Linked DNA regions of Homo sapiens: all the other regions are linked to region 1. Evidence: promoter capture Hi-C in 16 types of primary human blood cells and fetal thymus (Javierre and others, 2016). All regions are on one chromosome and are shown on one strand. The core of a region is centred on a gene start or on the middle of the fragment in contact, and the rest is flanking DNA. Distances in the headings are between cores, read along the strand shown.

What was found. Contacts are between HindIII fragments. The CHiCAGO score rates a contact against its expected background, and 5 or more counts as called.
Region 2: a contact is called between a fragment that was not itself captured here and the fragment with the promoter of IFNAR2 in region 1, in 2 of 17 cell types (monocytes and naive CD4 T cells). The highest score is 6.0, in monocytes.
Region 3: a contact is called between a fragment that was not itself captured here and the fragment with the promoter of IFNAR2 in region 1, in 1 of 17 cell types (neutrophils). The highest score is 5.1, in neutrophils.

Annotation. Positions count from the first base shown.
Region 1 is chr21:33,228,127-33,231,805 of GRCh38, reverse strand. IFNAR2 (interferon alpha and beta receptor subunit 2) reads right to left here and starts at 1,868. Exons shown (of 9, transcript NM_001289125.3): 1 at 1,590-1,868. It overlaps IFNAR2-IL10RB (IFNAR2-IL10RB readthrough), which reads right to left and starts at 1,868. Exons shown (of 13, transcript NM_001414505.1): 1 at 1,590-1,868. RefSeq lists silencers at 1-179, 1,402-1,451, 1,472-1,531, 1,592-2,051. The HindIII fragment of the contact is 6,332 bases long and covers 1-3,679 here.
Region 2 is chr21:33,274,206-33,277,884 of GRCh38, reverse strand. It overlaps IFNAR2-IL10RB (IFNAR2-IL10RB readthrough), which reads right to left. Exons shown (of 13, transcript NM_001414505.1): 9 at 1,132-1,289. IL10RB (interleukin 10 receptor subunit beta) reads right to left here. Exons shown (of 7, transcript NM_000628.5): 3 at 1,132-1,289. Among named protein-coding and RNA genes, the nearest start is that of IL10RB, 9.7 kb to the right of the region's middle. The HindIII fragment of the contact is 622 bases long and covers 1,511-2,132 here.
Region 3 is chr21:33,195,118-33,198,796 of GRCh38, reverse strand. LOC105372787 (a long non-coding RNA gene) reads left to right here and starts at 3,280. Exons shown (of 3, transcript XR_937675.3): 1 at 3,280-3,486. The HindIII fragment of the contact is 1,449 bases long and covers 1,095-2,543 here.

The DNA of each region.
Region 1 (3,679 bases), core at 619-3,118:
AGTGCCACTGCACTCCAGCCTGCGCGACAGAGCGAGACTTTGTCAAAAACCAAACCAAACCAAACCAAACCAAACAAAACAAAACATGATGATTGATAACGGAAGATGATACATACCATTGACTCTTGAACAGTTTGAAGGTTTATAAAGGTAGCAGAAAAAATGAGTCCAATGTGGCTTTGAGTGTGCAAGTGTGAGCCATGGAATATATATTTTAATAAATGTTTCACGTCTATGACAGTACCTCTAGGGTTATGATCCTTTTCATACTACTTTTTGAAATGACTTTTAGACAAATCACCATTGTCAAATTATGTGAACCAAAATCAGATTTTCTTTAACTTTTCAATAAATACATGAGAAACTTTAGAGGAAATAATAGGTAAGAAAAATGAGTCATGTACATTTTTGATTATCTAAAATTGTGGAAAACAACTTTATGAACAATAGAACTTACAAGTTCAAGTCATTTTCTGCGACAAACAGATCAAGCCTTATCAGCTATGCCCTAATTGCTAGGAGTGTTTATCGAATATTTTCCTTAGGGTAGATTTTGATAGAGTATCTGCTACCCCCTCACCCCCTCAAGCCTGCACAGGTGGATAGGGGGTGGGTGGACAGGATACTGAGAAACCTTGGCAAGCAGTGGGACTTAGCCCCTGGGCCAGTGAGCACACATGGGAAACTCCACCTCTCCCTGAGCCAGCTCCGGCACTTCTCACCACTGAATCAACGCCCAAGCATGCTATATTCGTTTCTAAGACTTCTTGCTAAACAAAACAAGGAAATAAAAAAAAAAATGTTAAAAGAAAGGAGGTGGGAATACTCAGAGTCAATATAACCATCGCTAACCAAATAAACGGGCTGATGGAGTCAACTCGCTACTGCGTGTAACGGATTGATTTGCTCAGGGTTGAAATGCAAGTGCCGATCGCCTCTCCATATTCGCGGAGTATCTTCCCAGTATCTCCCCTCTCCGACCCTGGGAGGGTGCACCCTTCTGTCTCCGCGGCCACGTCCCCTCGCCCCTTCCCCCTCCTGCCTCCACGCAGCGGATCCGGAGGGGTGTAGGCCGCTCCAGCCCCGGCTGCAGTCTGTGACCCTGACGCAGGTCGAGGGGGGCTAATCCCAGGGGACCTCAAGGGGGCGGGCTGGAGATCCCGAACCTGAGCACCCAGCTGGTGAGCCGGTTTTGCAAGGCGGGGTGGACCTGGAGGAATGTGACCCTCAAACTTAGCAACGACTCACATCTTGCAGTGGCAAATGCCCGGTATCCTGGGCATCCTTGGTGGGGTGGGGTGGGACGCGGAGGGGTGCAACGAAAGCGGACTCCCAGCAGGGGCGACGCGTGGAGGGCGCAGGACAGGGCCCGGGAGGGGTCCTGGGGTCGCAGGTGCGGCCCCGGGAGAGAGGAAGGGCGCACTAGCCGCATACTCAAGACGCAGAGGGAGGGCAGGAGGAGGAGGAGGAGTCGGGGAGAGCGAGAGGGAACCGGAGGGGATTCCGGGAACCGCTGCAGGGAGGCGGCGTTTTCCCTCCAGTCAGCTGGCCACGCGCTCCGCTCCCGCGACCCCGCCACGCTGCGTTACCTTTGCAGCTCTCGCCTTGCGGCTCCCGAGAGATGCTAGCCTCGGGCCCCAGCCGCGCCCGGCTCTGGGACCCGACGCTCGCGGTCAGGATGCGCCTCGCGGGCGGCCTCTCGGACAGAAGCGGCGGGCGGGGGACAAAAGCGGCCCGTGCGGCCGGGTGGTGGTCCGCGGGCTGCGCTCGGGGAACTGTTCGGCTCGCCGGCGGGATTCCTACCCGCCGGGAAGAAGCGTCTTTAGTGCGGGTGCGCGCGCCGAGCCCCGGCCTACGAGGAGCGATACGGAAGCGCGGGCGCCGCGCCGCCGCCGGCGCGGGGGCGGGGGCGGAGCCAGGGGCGGGGCCGGAGCCAGGGGCGGGTCCTGGGCCGCTGGCGGGGCTGGAGCAGGGCCGGAGGCGGAGGCCGGGCCGGGGGCTGGGCAGGAGAATAGAAAAAAGGTCCGGTCATTTACAATCGTCTGCTGCCGATTGTCAGCTCCTAACCAATCCCGCCTTCGCCGAGAAAGCTCCATAGGGGAAGAATTTGGGACTGTTTTGTTTACTGAAGTATCCTTAGGGGTTAGAATAGTGCCTGGCATTTAGAAGACACCCAAAGATGTGTTGACTGACTGAATGAATGAATGAACTAAAGAGTGAATGGGTTCTCTCCTGGCTCCCCCACTTGTTAATTGTATAAACCTGCATGATATAATTCTCCAACTAGTAAAACGAGGATAAAAATACCTACCATTGAGTAAATGTTGTAAATATCTACAACATTATCCGTTGTAGATTCTCCCCTCTTCTCCGCGGGTCTCTTCTCCATACTCCTACCCTTCCCTCGACCCCCCACTGATCAACGTGTTTCGGGATAGGCAGAAAGACAGATGTTCTTCATTAATTTGTCTGCTTGTTATTTATAGCCTGTCAACTTCTAAAATAGACTATGAGGCCGGGAGCGGTGGCTCACACCTGTTATCTCAGCACTTTGGGAGGCCAAGGCAGATGGACCATCTGAGGTCAGGACTTCAAGACCCAGCCTGACCAACATGGTGAAACCCTGTCTGTACTAAAAATACAAAAATTAGCTGGGCGTGGTGGCGGGCGCCTGTAATCCCAGTTACTTGGGAGCCTGAGGCAGGAGAATTGCTTGAACCTGGGAGGTGGAGGTTGCAGTGAGTTGAGATTGCACCATTGCACTCCAGCCTGGGAGACAAGAGCGAAACTCTGTCTCAAGAAAAACGAAAAAAAAAAGAAAATCCAAAACCAAAATAGACTATGAGGCAGCTTTCAAGTAAAATGTATGTATATTCTAAACATTACAGCTACTAAAATGGAAATGTTAATATCTTTTTGAAGGAGAGGGAAAAGATACACTAACCACCTAAATTGTTTTAACTGAGTATTTAATCTCTCGTTCAGCTTTCTGGCCTCCTAGGAAAGGGAGGAGGAGGATGTTTCATACTTTTTGTAGATGGGAAAAATGAGCCTTTTAATCTATGAAGTCAACCAACATTTGCTGATACTCCTTTAAGGCTAGGCACAAGGGTGATCATAAAGAGGATGTCACGGTCCTGCCTCTTATGTGACCCTTGGCAGAATTCCCACCAGCCCCATACGATCTGAAGGGAACTTATCTAGGATCCTATTTCTTATAAAAGACATTCAACATTGAAAATATTTTCAGCCACAGTTTTAGAGAATTTGCAGAAATAGCCTCTGAAAATGGGAGAAATCCAATACCAAACTCCATGTGCTGCATGCACTCTTTTATATAAACATATATATTAAAAATAAAACTATGTCAAAACCTTAACTATGACTTATTGCAGATTGGATGATAGTAGGTGATTTTTATTTTGTTTCCTTTCCAAACATTCTACAGTAAACATCCTTACTTATATAATTAGGAAAAAGATTTTTTAAAAAACAAATGCAGTCCTGGCTAACACGGTGAAACCCCGTCTCTACTAAAAATACCAAAAAAAAAAAAAAAAAAAAAAAAAAATTAGCCAGGTGTGGTGGCGGGCGCCTGTAGCCCCAGCTACTCAGGAGGCTGAGGCGAGAGAATGGCGTTAACCCAGGAGGTGGAGCTTGCCGTGAGCCAAGATTGCGC
Region 2 (3,679 bases), core at 572-3,071, 46 kb before region 1:
CCTGGCCAACATGGTGAGACCCCGTCTCTACTAAAAATACAAAAAAATTTAGCTGGGCATAGTGACAGGCACTTGAAGTCCCAGCTACTCAGGAGGCTGAGGCACGAGAATCATTTGAACCCTGGAGGCAGTTTGCAGTGATCTGAGATCGCGCCACTGCACTTCAGCCTGGGTGTCAGAGTGAGACTTTGTCTCAAAAAAAAAAAAAAAAAAAAAGAAAGAAAGAAAGAAAAAAAGAAAATTCCTGGGCTCAAGTGATCCACCACCTCAGCCTCCCAAAGTGTTGGGATCATAGACGTGAGCCACCATGCCTAGCCAGAGACAATTCTTTTAGTGCTTTTCTCTATGTGAGTTTTGAAGGGCTGTATGTGAATTTTGTGAATTAGGTTCTTTTAACCTCTAATCTTCTTTACTCTCTCAATTGCTAATATATGGTTTAATTAGTTTTCAATTCCTGATATTCTAAATATGCTCATCTCATATTTAGGGGACTCTGGTGGTCACCATGACCCTCCAAATCTAACCTGGGAACAATATTTTTTTTTTTTTTGAGACCAAGTCTCACTCTATTGCCCAGGCTGGAGTGCAGTGGCGTGATCTCGGCTCACTGCAATCTCCACCTAACCTGGGAACAATTTTTGATGCTGACCAACCAGTCTGACCCAACCCACCTGCCATCAGCCCTATCCCTCCCTCTGTCCTTCGCTCTGGGCAAGCCGGCTGTCCGCATCATATTTTCCATCTCTACATCTGCCTTCATTCTTTTGCCTATCACGTTATGTTTCTTTGTTTAAGTCATAATTCCATACTGACTTTCTCCCAGAAAATTCACCACAAGAATCCTTCCAGAACTTCTCCTCAACAGCACGGGCCCCAACATAGTCACATCCTTGAGGCACTGAAGGTGTTAGATTTATATTTAATTGTTGCATTGATGATATGCCTATCTTTTTCTGTCTCTCCCATGAATTCTTTAGGGATACAACTCTCTTTATTATATTCCTTAAGCTCCTTGTGCAAGGCCATCCATTTGTGGGCCCTCAAAGAATTCTTGTTGATGGACCAACCAATGTGGAAAAAAACAAGGCAAGATGATGACATTACAAAAAAAGGGAAAACAAAATGGCTTACTGTCATCCACAGGACAGAAGGTGATGTTTACCCAGTCTGAATGCTCATCTGCAAATTCAGCCCTGACTCTCAAGGTGTGGTCACCATACTTGGAAAGACTTGAGAAATCACATTCCGTCAAGGTAGTATTCATGCATTTATCTTGGAATATCCTATAACTACACAATCAAAAAGATAGGTCAATCAGGAGAGTTCTGGCTTCAGTCTCCCTGAGGCTGACTGGTACTTAATTTGGAGGGGGGGGCGGCGCGGGAGTGGAAACTGTGTTAAACATAGAAATACGTGTCTTCAAAACAGAACTTCTCAGAGACTTGAACATCTTAATGACTACGTGCCTCTCCAAGGGGTTGAGTATTCAGCATACTTGACCAAGAAAGCTTGCTTCCTTGATTACGTATTTTTGAAAACAGGGGCATGTGATTTATGAGACATTGATTTACAAAAATTTACCAAAATAAAGATATTACAATGATTTTCAATAAAGTCATGTGCTGCATAATGACATTTCGGTAGATGACAGACCACATATACAACGTTGATGCCCTAAGATAATGATACTGTATTTTTACTGTACCTTTTCTATGTTTAAATACATTTAGATGTAGACATACCTCATTTTATTGTGATTTGCTTTACTGTACTTCACAGATATTGCATTTTACAAATCGAAGGTCTGCAGCAACCCTGCATTGAGCAAGTCTATTGGTGCCATTTTTCCAACAGCACATGCTCACTTCATGTCTTTATGTCACATTTTGGTAATTCTCGCAATATTTCAAAACTTTTCATCATGATTATATGTGTTATGGTGATCTGTGATCAGTGATCTTTGATGTTACTGTTGTAATTGTTTTGGGGTACCATGAACCACACCTATATAAGACAGTGAAATTAATCAATAGATGTTGTGAGTGTTCTGACTTCTCCACCCACTGTCCACTCTCCTGCCTCTCTCCTTCTCCTCGGGCATCCCTATTCCAAAAGCTGCAAAGGATTAAGCTTAGTGAGGAAGGCATATTGCAGGCCACAACAGGCCCCTTGGGCCAAACAGTTAGCCAAGTTGTGAATGCAAAGGAAAAGTTGTTGAAGGAAATTTAAAGTGCTACTCCAGTGAACACATTAATAATAAGAAAGTAAAACAGCCTTATTGAAAATATGCAGAAAGTCTCAGTGGTCTGGATAGAAGATCAAACCAGCCACACCATTCCCTTAAGCCAAAGTCTAATCCACAGCAAGACCCTAACACTCCAATTCTGTGAAGGCTTAAAGAGGTGAGGAAACTGCAGAAGAAAAGTTGGGGCTGGGTGTGGTGGCTCACGCCTGTAATCCCAGCACTTTGTGAGTCTGAGGTGGGCGGATCATCAGGTCAGGAGTTCAAGACCAGCCTGACCAACATGGTGAAACCCCACCTCTACTAAAAATACAAAAAAATTAGCCGGGCATGGTGGCATGCACCTGTAATCTCAGCTACTCAGGAGGTTGAGGCAGGAGAATCACTTGAACCCGGGAGGCAGAGGTTGCAATAAGCCGAGATTGTGTCACTGTATTCCAGCTTGGGCAACAGAGCGAGACTCCATCTCAAAAAAAAAAAAAAAAAAAAAGAAAAGTTGGAAGTTAGCAGAGGTTGGTTCATAAGGTTTAAGGACAGAAGCCATCTCCATAATATAAAAGTGCAAGGTGAAGCAGCAAGTGCCCATGTAGAAGCTGCAGCAAGTTATCCAGAAGATCTAGCTAAAATCTAGCTAAAATGATGAAGGTGGATACTCTAAACAACAGATTTTTAATGTAGATGAAACAACCTTCTATTAAGATGTCATCTAGGACTTTCATAGTTACAGAGGAGAAGTCAATGCCTGGCTTCAAAGCTTCAAAGAACAGGCTGACTCTTGTTAAGGGCTAATGTAGCTGGTGACTTTAAGTTGAAGCCAACACTGGATTACCATTTTGAAAATCAGAGAGCTCTTAAGAATTATGCCAAATCTACTCTGCCTGTGCTCTACAAATGGAGCAACAAAGCCTGGAGGACGGCACATCTGTTTACAGCATGGTTTACTGAATATTTTAAGCCCAGTATTAAGACCTACTGCTCAGGATAAAAAGTTTTCTCTCAAAATATTACCTCTCATTGACAATGTACCTGGTTCCCCAAGAACTCTGATGGAGATTTAAAAGGAAATTAATGCTGTTTTCATGCCTGCTAACACAACATCCATTCTGTAGCCCATGGGTCAAGGAGTTATTTCGACTTTCAAATCTTATTATTTAAGAAATATATTTTGAAGCTGGGCACAGTGGCTCATGCCTGTAATCTGAGCACTTTGGGAGGCCAAGGCGGGCAAATCACTTGAGGTCAGGAGTTCGAGACCAGCCTGGCCAACATGGTGAAACCCTGACTTTACTAAAAAAAAAATACAAAAATTAGCCTGGTGTGGTGTCACTACTTGGGAAGCTGAGGCAGGAGAATCACTTGAACCTGGGAGGTGGAGGCAGCAGTGATCTGAGATCATACCACTGCACTTCAGCCTGGGCAACAGAGTGAGACTCCATC
Region 3 (3,679 bases), core at 570-3,069, 33 kb after region 1:
TGGTTCTGATTATGTGCAAAAACTGGATTCCAACTGCCAAGCATTTCTTTCTCAACTTCTGATTAGCTGCAACTTAGTAGTCATTCAACCTTGAATAAAACAATTTCACCTGAATATAAAAACACGTTTAAAATTAAGAAATTGCTTGCTTACACAATATATTATTCTTTCTTTTTCTGGCATCTTCCTTGCGGTTTAGATGTCATATCGTAACTTCTCCTTCCCCAAAGGGTCAATCCAACTCTAGTGTCTTGTTCCATGTGGGTCTTTTGTTCCTTCCACCCATAATCTAAAGGTCCCAAGGCACTTCCCCTATCCTCCCTCAGCCAAGCTTCATCCTTGGGCTCTGCCCTAGAGTAACTCAGCTGACATCTTAAATATGTCTGATCATGCTAGTTTGTATAATTCCTGTTTTCTGCATGCAGACTATGTGTTTTTCCTAACACACCAGCAAATATTTAGTAACTTTAAATTTATGTGCCAGTATTTTGCAAAGTGCAGTGGGGGGGTACAAAGAATTGAAAACCTGATCTCATCAACTGGAGTTGACTACACATATGTAGGTACGGGAAAGAGTAAGATATAGAGGGTACCACCTGTAGCTGGAGTACCTCCAGCACCGGGCGATGCTTCCCACTTCTCTCCTCTGTAATGCACAGGAAACATTATATTTCCAAATATGATGCATTCCCATGGGTAGCAGTTGCTCTGCCTCTTTCCCAACCAAGAAAGCCTATGGAATTTAGGGATTGTTGGGATGTGATCAAAGGGACAACCTTAAATATCCACTGTTTCTAAGAAGGATCCTTGTTTAGACACTTAGGAACAAATTAACTTATCCCCCTTATCCTGCCCAGCATCCATCAGTGGGTTAGGGAGGTATGGCAGAGGATGGCTGGCAAAGATAGGGCCATTTTCTGCATACAGATCACACTGCAGAGAAATAAACTGAGTTCCCTAGCGGCCTTTGCCTCTGCACTGCTGATTGCAGTTGGTGCCACACTGTGCCAAGTGATAAGCTCTTGAAAAGGAGCAGTTGCGTCGTGTCCTCAGAGGAGGACTGTGTGGAATGTTTGTGTCTGCATATTCAAGCTTGTTGCCAGATCTGCTGTTTCTGGGCCTCTCTCATTCTCAACTTCCTTGTGTTGAAAAATGAAGATATGAATTCCTCTCTCACAAGGGCTGTTGTGGAAATTCAATAAAAGTAATTTTGTGAGAGCTTTTAGCACGGTGCTGGCATTCAAGTGGTTGGTTGCTCAATAAATATTTGCTGGGTGAAAAAAATCTGATATTTACTTCAGAGTTCACTATGTCATTTTTCTTAATGAAAGTATATCCAAGTAGATATCTTGCTAAAATAAGAACAGCTGGAAACTATCTTAAGTGGAATTGCCTGAAGAAGAGGTGTGTCCATTTTCATTGTTTTGTAGAGTTTAGTTCATCCAGCATATCCCTCGCTTCCTTTCCTTCTTTATAGGGTTCCACAAGGAGCTTTGCTGTGGGCGAACTGTTAGCTGGAGCTGTGATAATTAGGCCAAGGTCATGCATCTGTCCCTTGTGGGCCAGTTAGCTCAGCTTGGCTCCATGTCCATACGCATTGATCTTAACCCAGCGGCAGACTCACAAGTGTGTGACCGCATCCCAGAGGACTGCGGGGGAAGGGTTTCTGTGGATCAGGGCAAATCGCTCCTGCCGGAGAAGCACCTTCACGGTCAGCTCTCTTATGGTTATTATGACCTGAAGGTGGCGCTGTTTCTCAAGGAAAACTGGCGTAGGGTCGCCGACAGTCTATTTTAAAGTGAGTGTGAAATGATAGAATGTCAGAGTTGGAGAGAATCTGCGAGGTAATCTTTGGATCGATTTCCTCACTTTCCAGCCAAGGAAACAGATCCAGAGGGATAAAACTCTTGTCAGAAGTCACACCACAGATTCCTGACAGAGGCATGGCTAGACACGGGCCTCCCAGGTCATAAACTTTTACAATTTTCACTGCACTAAGGGTTTCCTGATCCTAAATGGTATCAAGCAATTAATAATGCTTAAAAGAAAACTGAATGAATCATTGATAACTAACCTGGTGATATTGTCAATGAATTAAGTTACTGAATTTCAAATGTCTGTTATTTCTAATCACAGGTCAGATTCAAGTTGTTTTGGCTTTTACTACAAAAAGCATCTTTACATATATCTGCAATTTAATGGATAATTTATTTTCCCTTTCCATACATCTGAAAGAAGAAACATAATTGGTATGAACAGCACTTAATTCCAGACTGACTTCTTTTGAACTGTAGGTAAGCATTATTTGTTTGAATGATTACAATTGAGACAAAATGTGGGTTTTTAACAGCTGCTCACAGATTGCAGGCTGATAATGACAGTAACTCTATGGCAGCTATTTGTAACCCCTACCCTAGTTCATAGAAAGAGAAGCATATTAGACAGTGGGCATGGCAAGTACCTCTCCGCAGGTGTGTACGGAATCAGAATTCAACTTTTAGAAGATTTCTGCTCTGAAAACAAATTATTTTTTAAAGTAAGCTTTTACTTATTTTGGGGGGTATGGTGAGTACTTGGGAACGTGAGAGAGTGTTTCCTACTTTTCTCATGGTGAGAGTTGACAAGATGTGAGGTTTGGAGCCTGTGTTGTAGAATTCAAGGTCATCAAAAAAGGCAGGTCTTGTGGCTCTGCTTGAGGCATGAGTTAAAACTTTTCTTATCATCCTGATCAAATACAGTTGTAGGAGTTGTCGCAGGGAGATTAGCACCCTTTCTCCAGTTCATCTTGGACAGGTGGTTTTTATTATTCTTGTATTTGGTTTTTATCCTCTTTCTTTCAGAGCTAAGGGAGACTCATCAGAATGGATGGTTTCTGAAATAGGAATCTATTCAAGATTTAGGAATATAGAATTTTTATTTTTTAAAACACATTACATTTCATTACACTGTCCAATGATATAACAGAACCACAGACTTTTCTGGTTGTGTCCTGCTCTTTATTTTTACCTGGATCCAAGCTTTCTTCAATGATTCTCTCTCTCTCTCTTTTTCTTTTTCTTTCTTTTTTTTTTTTTCTTTTTTGAGTTGGAGTCTTGCTCTGTCACCCAGGCTGGAGTACAGTGGTGTGATCTTGGCTCACTGCAACCTCCGCCTCCTGGGTTCAAGTGATTCTCGTGCCTCAGCCTCCTGAGTAGCTAGGATTACAGGTGTATGCTACAATGCCTGATAAACTTTTGTATTTTTTGGTAGAGACTGGATTTCACCATGTTGCCCAGGCTGGTCTCAAACTTCTGGCTTCAAACTATCTGCCTGCCTCAGCCTCCCAAAGTGCTGGGATTACAGGCGTGAGCACCGTGCCCTGCCTCTCTTCAAGGACTCTCTTTGCTACATCGGCATCACCTGGGAACGTGGTAGGGCTACAGAATCTTGGGCCCCACCTTGGACCTACCTAATCGTCATCTTATTCATTGGTGTTCCCTTCGCCAGGTGAGTTTTGCACTGACTAAAACACACAGATCTATCAGGTGAGTCGAAATGGCAATACTCATTTACCTTAGTTCTGCCTTTATTTTACTTTCAGTGTTTTATCCTTGTCCATGGAGTCACTCTCATTCATGCAGTTCCACAAATATTTTTTAAGGCCCACTCTGTGGCAGACATAATACAAAGGGCTGAGAAT